2 separate regions of the Homo sapiens genome follow, and region 1 is linked to region 2. Evidence: promoter capture Hi-C in human tissues and cell types (Jung and others, 2019). All regions are on one chromosome and are shown on one strand. The core of a region is centred on a gene start or on the middle of the fragment in contact, and the rest is flanking DNA. Distances in the headings are between cores, read along the strand shown. Region 1 holds the start of LOC124904002 (a long non-coding RNA gene). Region 2 holds the start of KRTAP4-4 (keratin associated protein 4-4).

What was found. The method cuts DNA at HindIII sites, captures the fragments that hold promoters and counts their contacts. A contact is called where the count stands out against the background at its distance.
Region 1: a contact is called between a fragment that was not itself captured here and the fragment with the promoter of KRTAP4-4 in region 2, in 1 of the 25 tissues and cell types used here (small bowel).

The regions. Positions count from the first base shown.
Region 1 is chr17:41,106,309-41,110,125 of GRCh38, reverse strand. It overlaps KRTAP4-9 (keratin associated protein 4-9), which reads right to left. Exons shown (of 1, transcript NM_001146041.1): 1 at 3,638-3,817. It overlaps LOC124904002 (a long non-coding RNA gene), which reads right to left and starts at 1,894. Exons shown (of 2, transcript XR_007065754.1): 1 at 1,747-1,894; 2 at 1-122. The HindIII fragment of the contact is 3,699 bases long and covers 673-3,817 here.
Region 2 is chr17:41,159,265-41,162,978 of GRCh38, reverse strand. KRTAP4-4 (keratin associated protein 4-4) reads left to right here and starts at 2,231. Exons shown (of 1, transcript NM_032524.2): 1 at 2,231-3,330. The coding sequence starts at 2,288. The coding sequence ends at 2,788. The HindIII fragment of the contact is 15,846 bases long and covers 1-3,714 here.

The sequences.
Region 1 (3,817 bases), core at 1,273-3,772, 53 kb after region 2:
TCTTTTTCTTTTCTTTCTTTCTTTCTTTCTTTCTTTCTTTCTTTCTTTCTTTCTTTCTTTCTTTCTTTCTTGCTTGCTTGCTTTCTTGCTTGCTTGCTTTCTTTCCTTCTTTTCTTTCTCTTCTAAAAAAAAATGAAATACACATGCAGGAGAACGTGCAGGTTTGTTACATAGGTATATGTGTGCCTTGGTGGTTTGCTGCACCTATTGACCCATCCTCTAAATTCCCTCCTCTCATTCCCCACCCCCCAACAGCCCCTGATATGTGTTGCTCTCCTCTCTGTGTCCATGTGTTCTCAAAGTTCAACTCCCATATATGAGTGAGAACATGTTGTATTTGGTATTCTGTTTCTGTGTTAGTTTGCTGAGGATGATGGTTTCCAGCTTCATCCATGTCCCTACAAAGGACATGATCTCACTCCGTTTTATGGCTGCATCGTATTCCATGGTGTATATGTACCACATTTTCTTTATCAAGTCTATAATTGATGGGCGTTTGGGTTAGTTCCATGTCTTTGCTCTTGTAAATAGTGCTGCAATAAACATACATGTGCCTGTGTCTTTATAGTAGAATGATTTGTATTCCTTTGGGTATATAACAAGTAATGGGATTGCTGGATCAAATGGTATTTCTGATTCTAGATCCTTGAGGAATCACCATACTGTCTTCCACAATGGTTGAACTAATTTACATGGGCCCTTTCTTTCTTAATGTAAATATGCACAAAGACCATATTACTTCCATTTTACTTAAACTCTGGCAAGTACAGGTGCCATAAAACCTATGGAGTGCTTGAAAGGGAATCATTCTCTTTGCTTTCTCCTCATTCTTAGATTATTTGTTTCCCAGTTTTCTTCTTAAAAAGAGGAACTGAGCTGAGGCCTAGAGGTTTTCTGTGGTGGATCAATATGTGCCATTTGTGGGCAGGACTCCACAGTGGGTCACCACTGAAAACAACAGTTCAGTTCCTCATGCAAATGCACACAGACAAGCTGAATTGAGCTTAATTTGGGGAGAAAAAGCAACAGAGAAGATCCTTTAGAATGCATTTGTGAACTAGAATTAGGATCTTTAAACGACAAATTCCTAGAAGGAAAACAAAACAACAGCCAAGACCACTTTTTGTAAACCTTGCTCAGCCACCCCTTAACTTTGTAGCTCTCATCTACCACTATACACAACAAGGTCAAAGCCAAAGAGGTCAGGTCATGCAATACAGGAAAATAGAGGTTTAGAGTTAAGAAGAATCTACCCATGACTCTTGAAACTCCACAAAGAAAACAAAACACCCCAAAAGGGGTGAGTGGCAACCTTTGTTCTGAATTCTTTAAGGGGGTTCAAGTCATTAGAAGCCTTCTCTAGACTTTTTGGTACTGCATATGGCAAAGGGGGAGGAGGTATATGGTGCAAGAAAAGTAAACGAAAGAACATTCGTGTTTTAAGACAGGAAGCAAACACAGAAACCAAGTGCATGGGTTTTTGGTTCTTTTTGTTTGTTTTCTTCTTTTGCAGCTGCAATGAATTTTAGCCAAATTAGAGAGGTTTTGTTACCCGTAATTTTGAATTCTCACTTGGATTTGACCAAGTCAGGTAGAGTTGGTCAAGTCTGATGGGAGAAAGACCAAAACAAACAACAAAATCTCCAACCATAGGATTACCAAGCACTCTAATGATAAGGAGAAATTAAGAGCAGCTAGCTGGTTGTTAAACTTTAGCCCAGACAAAGCCCCAGTTCAGCTACTTACCTAGGGATGGGTCTCAGGCTGAAGGCTGCTTTCTACCACCCTAGAAGCAGGAAAAAAACTCAAACTGGTCTTCCCTGCTGGGAGTGAGCTCAAACTCTACATGCCTTTCATCATCATGGAAGCAGGAAATCTTGCCTTCCTTGTAAAGGAAGTAAAAGTAAATCTTGCCTTCCTTATAAGGAAGGCAAGTAAGCAAGTAAAACTCCAAAAACAAAAATAGGTGGGGCAGTTGTACAGCAAAATGAACTTTAGTTCTTCACCAAATTTGGGGAGATCAGGGATTCTTTGGGGAGGGTGCTCCCAGACCTCAGCAAATTGTCCTATTGATTTGAGCCATAAAGTTAGCTCATGCTATTACCAGGCACCAACAGGATATTCGTCAAAGGTCAAGGGCATCTCCACTCAGAATCCTTTCACAGTTACCAAAATGTTAACCCAGAAAATCTGAGACAGGTCTCAGTTAATTGAGAAAGTTTATTTTGCTAAGGTTGAGGATGCTCCGGTGACACAGCCTCAGGAAGTCCTGATGACATGTGTGTAAGGTGGTCAGATAACACTTTTGTTTTATACATTTTAGGGAGACATGAGATATCAATCAACATATGTAAGATGAACACGGATTTGGTCCAGAAAAGGCAAGACAACTCGAAGCAAAGGCGGGACAACTCGAAGCTGGGAGGGGGCTTCCAGATCATAGGTATATAAGAGACAAATGGTTGCCTTCTTTTGAGTTTCTGATTAGCCTTTCCCAAGGAGGCAATCAGTGCATTTATCTCAGTGAGCAGAGGGGTGACTTTGAATAGAATGAGAGGCAAGTTTGTCCTAAGCAGTTCCGAGTTTGCCTTTTCCCTTTAGCTTAGTGATTTGGGGGCCCCAATATTTATTTTACTTTCACAGCCTCCTAACCTTATTTATCCTGCCTCATGTTTAAGAAGGCATCATAACTCTATGACTGAGATCTGGACAACATTTTTCTTAAGGCATCTGAAAAAATATGAAGCTTATTTTTCATATTTGAACATATCTGAACAAATCATCTTAAACTTGATTGGCTCAATAGCTTAAGGCCATTTCAGAGCTGATAATAGTCAAATAAAAGTAAAAACATCAAGAGCAGGTGCTCCTACTAGAATGCCAAGTTATAGTCACTTACCATATTCTTTCAGATTCAAATGAAGGCACCTCTCTTGGAAATTCTAATTAGGATATGCACCCCAGCTGCGACCTACTCAAGACTGAACTAATTCCAATAAAATAATTCTTAAAAAGAAAAGCGAGCCTTGAAATTTTCATCCTTTCTGGGTTTATATATATTAAAATGTTAAGTGTGGAGTTGTTTAAATTATAATGTAAACCCGTAGAGACCACAGTCAGCAATATACCATGCTATCCAGATGAACTACAGCTCAATATGCTTTTTTGTCTCAGCAGAACTCACTGGGAAATAAAGCCCACTTTTTGATTATAAATTCCAAAATGTTGTTATTGAGTAAAATGAATTCAGTACATGAAATTCTTTATAGAAGATTTCCCTTCTTTCATTGGTGTCTAATTTTCAGAAATTTGGTTTTATCTTTTTTGTCAAAACAGGGACGATAGTATTATGAGATATAATGTGTTAAAGATAAAATGTGTTTCAAGAGCTAAGGTATGAATTAAAACTGTCTTAATTTAGGATATTAAGACACATGTGCACACACACACACACACATACACACACATATACACACAGCACTTCTATTCCAATACCGTAAATTATCTATATTCGATATAGCATGTATTTTCAAAGTGATTTCAACACGGGTTGCTTTTCCTGCGTCTTTGTGTAAAATATAATTGTCAGGGAATCAGTAAAATAATTATGAAAGCAATAGAGAATGATACCAATGAATTCTTATGTACAGAAATTTTATTAAAAAGCAGAGATGCAACAAAGCATAAGAAATTCACACTAGGAGAAACACAGAATATAACTGGGCGGCTGGATCTGAGGGTGCAACCTCAGTGACAAAACTGGTCCTGCAGATAATGTCTGCCTCACTGAGAAGAAGATCTGTACCTCAAAGTGATA
Region 2 (3,714 bases), core at 982-3,481:
TGCATGCCTGCAGTAATAGAGCTCATTGTGGTGATCCAGGTTGAGTACCCCATATCTGAAATGCTTGGCACCAGAAGTGTTTCAAATGTCAAGTTTTTTCAGAGTTGGAATATTCGCATTATACTTGTTGAGCATCCCTAATGCAAAAACATGAAATCCTAAATGTTCTATTGGGCATTTTCTTTGAGCATCATATAGGTACTCAAAAAGGTTTGGGTTTTGGAGAATTTCAGATTTCAGATTTTCAGATAAGATGTCCTCAACTTGTAATATTCTATCTGGTGAAGGGATGCTAAGAGGGGACACAACCTTAGGGTGTGTGTATAGTTAAATAAATACTCCCAGTAAATTTAGATATATTCACTCCTCCCCAATCTCGTTTGCCATGCTGCATTAATAACCACTCATTTGATCTACAATTGGTTCTGATATTTCATCTTGTTAGGTTTGATTCCTTGTGAGAGTATTTCTGTAGTTTTGGAAACATGGTTCTGCCATTTGGCATATTCACTTTTTCTTACCTTCATGGCCCCCAAATATTTAGATGAGCATGTTTTATGGAAAGACCCTCAGCAGAGTTGGGGTGTCCATAGTATCCTCAGAGAGACCAGTCCAAACAGAAATTGCTAACCCAAGAGCATCCCAAAGTGGAGGGTGGCACAAAGACAGGAAGTTTCTGCCTTCTTCCTTGGGTTTCTTTAACATCCAGGTTTGGGGGAGTGTGTGTGTGTGTGTGTTTGAGTGTGTGTGTGTGTGTGTGTGCATAATATTCCTAAGGTAAAGGGCCTTAGGAGATAAAGGTAAATACATATATATATAAATATATATATTTCTAAATATGTTATTGTATATATTATATATATATTTATACATACTATTAAATACAAACATATATGAAGAATATATATTATATATTCATAAATATGTAAATATATATATTCCTATATTACCTATATATAAGGTTCTCTATCTACCCATCTATATATGTATAATATATATATATATTCCTAAGGTCCTTTGGCAGAATATATATATTCCCCCAAACCTGTGTGTGTGTGAGTGTATATATATATATACATATACATCAAAAGAAAATTATGGGCCTAGAAGAATTAAAATCACCCAAGGTCAGACATAATGTGTGTGTATGTGTGCGTGTGTGTGTGTATATATATATATATATATATATATACACACACACACGCACACATACACACACATACATACACACACATATATGTGTGTGTATGTGTGTATATTTATATATAGTGTGCATATTTATATATAGTGTGTATATTTATATATAGTGTGTATATACGTGTGTGTGTATACTATATATAGTATATATATGTATATATATAATATATATTATATATATATATATATATTATATATATATAGCAAGGACACTGGGTCCTTTACCTTAGGTTGGCAAGTAAACCTTAGAAATAGAGGAGATGACTCAATGTGATTGTTAAAGCCAGAGAGACAGGAAGGAAAAGTCAGAAGGAAAATCAGCCCCTCAGAGCAGAGAGCGGAGGGACCTGAACCTTTTAGTATAGCTGATCTCTGTAGCCAATTTCCCCTAAAGGCCCTGAAACTGAGTTTTGGAGTGTTGTTTCTCAAGAAAAAGAAGCATCGATAATTCATGACTTAGATGTCCACCTTAAAACAATTCTGCTTTCCCCAGTAGAACATCTAGAAAATGGGTCATGATTCATTGTATGGAAGGTGGCAAGGAATATATCCTAATAGTATTTGTTTTCATGCCACTGGTCACCTGTTTCACATTCAAACCTTCATTGCTCACTTGATCTATAACAAACATGCCATGAGATTAAAGCACAGCTTTCTCCTCCTGAGTCACCAAAAGAAAATTACGGGCCTAGAAGAATTAAAATCACCCAAGGTCAGACATAATGTATTAAGGAAAATGAGGCTGCAGCACATGGTACCTGCAGGCAGATGTCACATGGCAGCTCAAGGAGGAAGCTGCAGCAAGAGGCACACAAGAGGTTGTTCAAGAAGAGCTGACCTGAAGAATCCTAACACACCAGGGGAAGGAAATAATGCTTTTCTCCATGTTGACAAATTTAAGCAGAAAAACAAACTTGCCTAATTTGATAATTGCCTGCTCATCAGAACAAACAATGACAAGGAAAGAGTGCTGCATCCGATGACATCAGCCCTGAGCAGGGTATAAAAGAGGATCTGGGGCAAGGAGACTTCCAAGCCTTCCAAACCCTCCTTCCTGGAAACCCACCCAGAACCTCCACCCTCTGACACCATGGTCAACTCCTGTTGTGGCTCTGTGTGCTCTGACCAGGGCTGTGGCCTAGAGAACTGCTGCCGTCCCAGCTACTGCCAGACCACCTGCTGCAGGACCACCTGCTGCCGCCCCAGCTGCTGTGTGTCCAGCTGCTGCAGACCCCAGTGCTGCCAGACCACCTGCTGCAGGACCACCTGCTGCCACCCCAGCTGCTGTGTGTCCAGCTGCTGCAGACCCCAGTGCTGCCAGTCTGTGTGCTGCCAGCCCACCTGCTGCAGACCCCAATGCTGCCAGACTACCTGCTGTAGGACCACCTGCTGCCGCCCCAGCTGCTGCAGGCCCCAGTGCTGCCAGTCTGTGTGCTGCCAGCCCACCTGCTGCTGCCCCAGCTACTGTGTGTCCAGCTGCTGCAGACCCCAGTGCTGCCAGACCACCTGCTGCAGAACCACCTGCTGCCGCCCCAGCTGCTGTGTGTCCAGGTGCTACAGGCCCCATTGTGGCCAGTCTCTATGCTGCTAGCCCATCTGCTGGCAAACCACCTGCTACAGGACCACCTGCTGCCACCCCAGCTATTGCATTTCCAGCTGCTGCCAGCCTTCCTGCAGTATCTCTAGCAGCAGTAGCTCCTCCTGCTGTGGCTTCAGCTGCTGCAGGCTCTCCTGCTGCATCTCCAGTTGCTGCCGCCCCAACTGCTGCCAGACCATGTGCTGCCGCCCAACCTGCTCTAGTGCTTCTTGCTGCTGAGGCTGTCATCTGGACTCACCAGATTCTCATCAACCAGCATTCTTGATGTAGCTCATCTATGAGCTGAGTTATGGGAAGCTAGTTGGAAAACTTCAGTTCCAACCAATTCTTAGATTGAATCTGGCCTCCAAATATATGCTCCCCCCACATTTTACCTCTCTACCAAATGAACATAAGTTGTAATTTGCTCTGAAATCTGTCAACTATCTTAATTGAAATATTTGCTCTCTGCCATAATTTCTCATATGGAGCTATTCCATTTTAAACAAATATTTATCTAAATAAATCTTAAATAAATTTTCAGGCATAGAAATATACAGATACTGTGTCTCATTATTTTTCTTTTTTGAGTGTGGTCAATTACCAGTCAATTTTTCTGTTGTTCTTCTCTGCAGAATGTAATTTCAGGGGCACCACCTCTATTTCCTCAGCACACTTTATTCTAATATACAATGGTGGTTTCTTAGAGCAAGCACCTGGAACTCTCTTCTTGAAGAGTTTCTCTAGCCAAGGAGCAAGCTCTGGACTGTAGAGTTAAAGCCTCTTGGAATAGTATTCAACAAATGAGTGAGAGTTGGTGAACACATGCTTTAGTTATTTCTCCTCCAGTTGGGAGCATGTTGTACCAGCATGTCAGTGGTCCTCAGAGACACCAAATTCCAGCTACCTACAGGGCTATTCTGATCATTAACTCATCTTGT